Linked DNA regions of Homo sapiens: region 1 is linked to region 2. Evidence: promoter capture Hi-C in 16 types of primary human blood cells and fetal thymus (Javierre and others, 2016). All regions are on one chromosome and are shown on one strand. Each heading gives the region's core, a stretch centred on a gene start or on the middle of the fragment in contact. The rest is flanking DNA. Distances are from core to core; before and after follow the strand shown. Region 1 has its middle 9.1 kb from the start of LINC01433. Region 2 holds the start of HSPA12B (heat shock protein family A (Hsp70) member 12B).

The links. The method cuts DNA at HindIII sites, captures the fragments that hold promoters and counts their contacts. A CHiCAGO score of 5 or more calls a contact.
Region 1: a fragment that was not itself captured here is called in contact with the fragment with the promoter of HSPA12B in region 2 in 1 of 17 cell types (neutrophils); the score reaches 5.1 in neutrophils.

The regions. Positions count from the first base shown.
Region 1 is chr20:4,200,860-4,203,559 of GRCh38, forward strand. No RefSeq gene overlaps it. Among named protein-coding and RNA genes, the nearest start is that of LINC01433, 9.1 kb to the left of the region's middle. RefSeq lists a silencer at 1,220-1,420. The HindIII fragment of the contact is 1,798 bases long and covers 459-2,256 here.
Region 2 is chr20:3,731,218-3,733,943 of GRCh38, forward strand. It overlaps HSPA12B (heat shock protein family A (Hsp70) member 12B), which reads left to right and starts at 1,468. Exons shown (of 13, transcript NM_052970.5): 1 at 1,468-1,577. RefSeq lists an enhancer at 1,530-2,109. The HindIII fragment of the contact is 6,119 bases long and covers 1-2,726 here.

The sequences.
Region 1 (2,700 bases), core at 108-2,607, 470 kb after region 2:
GAACGATATCTGCCTTTGCTCTTCAGGCAGGAACTGGGGAACTAACCCTGCAGGGGTTCAGATTTCTTGGGCTACTGCAAGACAGCCTTCGGTCAAAGCTCCATTAACTTACTAGCTACATGGCCCCCACTGTGATCAGTGTTTTTTAATCTCTGAAAGGTTTTTTTTCCTACCTAGTGAACAATCACACAGATACTTTTGTAGAACGAAGATGTTTACAAAACAAAGCATGTGGGGCAAGTGTACCCAGCCTTCCTTTTATTCAAGAGGTTCTGGGACAGTGAACTTACCCAGATTAATCAATTTCACGGGGTATGCCATATTTTAGGAATAACTTTTTGGACAATTTGTCCGCACGTCTATTTCCTTAAACTTGCCATTTTATGTCCTTGCACAGTTATTATGTTACAATATATTCTCCACCATCAAATTTTCACACTTCCAGGATTCAATAAAAAAGCTTAGCAATGCCTGTGAGGCATGAAGATTACCTTCTGAATCATCAAAGAGAGATGTTTTTTTCTTTCTTTTTTTTGAAATGGAGTCTCACTCTGTCACCCAAGCTGGAGTGCAGTGGCCTATCTTGGCTCACTGCAACCTCCGCCTCCCGGGTTCAAGTGATTCTCCTGCCTTAGCCTCTGGGAGCAGCTGGGATTACAGGCACGCTGCACTATGCCTGGCTTTTTTTTTTTTTTTTTTTTTTATTTTTAGTAGGGATAGGGTTTCATCATGTTGGCCAGGCTGGTCTGGAACTCCTGACCTCAAGTTGTCCACCCCCCTCTGCCTCCCAAAGTGATGGGATTATAGGTGTGCCCAGCCTGAATCATCATAGACAGATTTGATTAGGAACCATTGCTATATCCTAAATCTCTTTGGTCTATGATTCTTTCTCATTTTTACTTCAACTTTTTTTTTTTTTCCCAGACAGGCTGTTGCTCTGTCCCCCAGTCTGGAGTGCAGTGGTGTGATCATGGCTCACTGCAGCCTCAATCTTCTGGGCTCAAGCCATCCTCCCACCTCAGCCTCCTGAGTAGCTGGGGCCACAGGCATGCACCACCACACCTAGCTAATTTTTAAAATTATTTCTAGAGTGAAGGTCTCACTGTGTTGCCCAGGCTTCCACTTTGAACTCCTGGGCTCAAGCAGTCCTCCTGACTTGGCCTCCCAAAGTGTTAGGATTACAGGCATGAGACACTGCACCTGGCCTTTCTTCAACTTTGTATACTGAAACATAGCATACAGAGTGCAGGACAGTTCTCCTGGTGGCCTTGGACCAACCCAGCTCTTCCCCCTTTCTTGCTTGTAGTTCTCAAAATAACTGTAGAATGTGCTGGGAATGTAACATCCTGTGATAAGGAGGGATTGGCTGCAACTGCCTGCGCTCTGTTCCAGTCCTTGTCAGAAACAGGATGTCCTGTCTGGGCTCGGTGGCTCACGCCTGTAATCCCAGCACTTTGGGAGGCTGAGGTGGGTGGATCACCTGAGGTCAGGAGTTCAAGACCAACCTGGCCAACATGGTGAAACCCCGTCTCTACTAAAATACAAAAAATTAGCCTGGTGTGATGTTGGACGCCTGTAATCCCAGCTACTTGGGAGGCCAGGCAGGGAAATCGCTTGAACCTGGGAGGCGGAGGTTGCAGTGATCCGAGATCGTGCCACTGCACTCCAGTCTTGACCACAGAACGAGACTCCGTCTCAAGAAAAAAAAAAAAAAAAGAAACAGGATGTCCTTCAACACTTTAGTCCAGTGAATCATGTATCTCCGGGGTATAAAGCCCAGGTGGGCTGCTTCTTGGGAGCCCTCAGCTGCAGTGCAAGTGGGGCATGCACAGTTGAGACTCCATCTGCCCCAGGCTGCTTTCCTGAGCCTTAGGTGACCAGCTCACAATGAACCCTAGGCTTCTGTTATCCCTTGGTGCCTATCTGTAAGTAATAGATCCTCTTCATGTAACTTGTTGCATATGTGGGTGTTTTGTCTCACTGGACTCAGACAAGTTGGTAACTAAGTGCACAGTGAACCTGCTTCATGGAGATAATTACTCAAAATATAAATGTGTGATGAATTATCAGAGTGAACAGCTTTGTGCCATGAGGCAGGTAAAGAAATGAGACATGGCCAGCACTACCAAAGCCCCTTTCATGAAACATAAGTTCCTCCCACTTTCAAAAGGACTTGACTTCTAACACTATCATTTTTAATTTGTTTGCCTATCACGAACTTTCCATATTTGGAATCTCACAGAATGTGTTCTTTGAAGCTTGGCTTCTTTTGTGAAGCATTATATTCATGAGATGCATTATGTCGTTGTGTGAGGTAGTAGCTCATGCATTTTTATATATAATACATTTTTCTTATCTGATCTTTTTTTTAATTTTAATTTTAATTTTTTTTTTTTTTTTTTTTGAGACGGAGTTTCGCTCTTGTTGCCAAGGCTGGATTGCAACGGCCTGATCTTGGCTTACTGCAACCTCTGCCTCCTGGTTTCACGCGATTCTCCTGCCTCAGCCTCCTGAGTAGCTGGGAATACAGGCACCTGCCACCATGCCCGGCTAATTTTTTTGTATTTTGAGTAGAGACAGGGTTTCCCCATGTTGGCCAGGCTGGTCTTGAGCTCCTGGCCTCAAGTGATCCGCCCGCCTCGGCCTTCCAAAGTGCTGGGATTACAAGCATGAGCCACCATGCCCAGCCTTATTTGCTCT
Region 2 (2,726 bases), core at 218-2,717:
CCATGCCTGACCTCATTAAGGAGGCCCTCTGGGGCAGTGGCTCTGAGAAGAAAGGCAGCAAGCCTAGGGAGGTGACACTGTAGCTGGGGAGCATTTTGGCTGGGCAGAGAGGAGGAAGGAGAGCATTTCAGGGAGGGAAAATAGCCCTTGCAAAGGTTTGGAGTGGAAGAGCAAAAGGGATGTCCCAAGAACTGTGCCTCATTTGATGGGGCTGTGGGGCCCTTCTCTGACGGGCAGCCTTCCCAGGCACAAAGGGAGGTGGACTGAGAAGCATCTGGAACTTCTGTGGGGGCACATGGGGCAGAGGGGAAGGGGAACAGGCAGAACGAGTCAGCTGCCTTTGAAAGCTCCACGAGGGACCTAGCAGAAATTCATTCATTCATCCGTTCATTCATTTATTTATGACAGGTTCTCTCTCTGTCACCCAAGCTGGAGTGCGGTGGTGTGATCACACTTACTGCAGCCTCAAACTCTTGGGCTCAAGCAATCCTCCACCCCAGCCTCCTGAGTACCTAGGACTACAGACGTGAGCTACTACACCTGGCTAATTTTTAAAACTTTTTAGAGACAGGGTCTCCCTTTGTTGCCCAGGCTGGTCTTTGTTGCCCAGCCAGCTTCAAGCCATCCTCCCACCTCAGACTCCCAAAGCGCTGGATTACAGGCATGAGCCACGGGTTCCCAGCCCAGAAAGAGACCTTCACCCCACAAACCCCCTGTCTGGAGGCCAAGTCCCAGCATCCCCAGAAGGGCCCCGGTTAGGACAAGAAAAAGGCTGTGTGCCTCGGAGGAGAGGCTGGGTGCCCCCTGGTGCGGAGTGGTCCCCTTGCCGGGCATGGGGCCTCAGTCTGTGAGACTCCGCGCCTCCGTCGTCTGAACTTGAGCAAAGACAGAGCTAGGCCTAGCCTGGGGACCCGAGGGCCTGCCCTCATCCGCAATTCTGCCTCTTTTCTGGCCACTGAGGACCGGGCTAGGGAAGCTGTAGGGGCAGTAGGGGTGGGAGGAGAGAGGGTTCCGGGTCAAGGGACTGGAGGGGTCTGGGGCAGGGAAGTGGAGGGGTCTAGGGCGGGCCCTTCCCCCTCCGCTGTTGGGCCCTCGCTGAAGGGGCCGAGGCTGAGCCCCAAGGTGGGCCTGTGGGGGCGGGGCGGGGGAGCCCCTCAGCAGCTGGACCGCAGGAGGCCGACCAGGGTCTGGAACTCCTCTTCCCCTCCCTCCGCCGCCCCCTCTCCCTTCTCCCACCCCCTGGGCTGCTAGGGGAGCGGGGGAGGCGCAGGAGGGGCTCAGGGAGGGGCCCTGGACGCGGGACCAGGCTGGGCCCCTCGGCGGAGGCCCGCGCAGGCAGGCCCCGCCCCGGCCTCGCACATCTGGGCCGGGAGCGCGGGCCGACCCGGCGGCGCAGGCGGCGCGGCCATCCGGCCTGGGGGAGGGGGCGGCGGGCGGGGTGGGCGGCGCGAGGAGGCGGGAGGCCTCAGGGCCGGGCGCACGTCGAGGGCTGCGGCCGCCGCAGCGGGCACGGCCAACGAGCTGCGGGCCCGGGATCGCGGCGGCTGGACGGGGCTGGAGCTGTCGGGAGGGCGGAGGTGAGTTCTGGGGCGGGGGCTGCCGGGCGCCCCGAGTGGAGAAAGGCGAGGAGGTTTGCCGTCCCGGGCTGTCGGCTGAGACCCCACCAAAAACCTCCAGACTTTGTCTGGTGGGGACAGATCTGCAAGCCCCTCTCTGCAGCGTGGCTGCGGGCTCGGGAAGGCACTTGGGGCAGCGACCTTGGTCTCCCACCTGGGCTTCGGGGGACCACCTCCCCTGTCCCTCGCACAGCTGCTCAGAGGCTTAGGCTGGAGAAACTCCTGTGTCTTAGGGGCTGGCAGGACTGGTGTGGGCTGGGGCCTGCTCCAGGGAGCCAAACTGAGGGACCCGGTGCCTAGGTCTGAGGTGGAAACCTGGGAGTTGAGTGTATGTGTGTGTGTTGGGGGGTGCCTCAGGGGTCCCAGGCCCTGTGGTCCCGAAGCGCAACAGAGTACTGAGTGGCCCAGGTGCCAGGGTCTGAGGCTGGGACCTGGTCTTCCGGGCCAGCTTGAGGTCCAGGTGGGGTGGGGTCCAGGTTCCCGCTAGGGCAGTGGAGCCTATCTGTGAGGTTAGCGTGTGTTGATGAGAGAGACTGGAAGGGAGTGATCACGAAACTAGGGACCCTCCGGAGAGCAGACGCAGCGCAGGAATCCCAGGCCAGAGGGGTAATGGGGGGCTGTGGGCAGAGCATGGGAGGGGCTCTGTTGTTTGTGAACTGGCTGCTCCCATGATGAGGACCCAAGGGGGTGCGGCAGGATGTATGGAAAGCAAAGATGAGGACAGGGAGGGGCCATGGGAGGCCATTTCTGTCACTCCCTGCCCCAGCGCAGGATGGGGCAGCCACCTCACTCAGCCACACATGGTCCCATCTTCTTAAGGGCTCCTCTCCAGAACAGAGTGGGGCAGCCCTTTGGGTGCCGTTTCTGATCTGTGCTTTGGGCCCTGGTTGGCCCAGTCTGTGGCTTGGAAGAAACGCCTGTGGCCTCACTTAGCCCGCTGACGGAGTCCTGTTCCATTACAGGGCTGGCTGGGTGCTGAGCAGAGAGCAGCAGGCGGAAGAGGCAGGGTCCTAGTGAGGAGGGGAGCTGGAATGACCTGGGTGGGCTCTTTGTCTACACAGGCATCGTGTGGAGCCCTGAAACCCAGAACACTGCATTCCCATAGTGCTC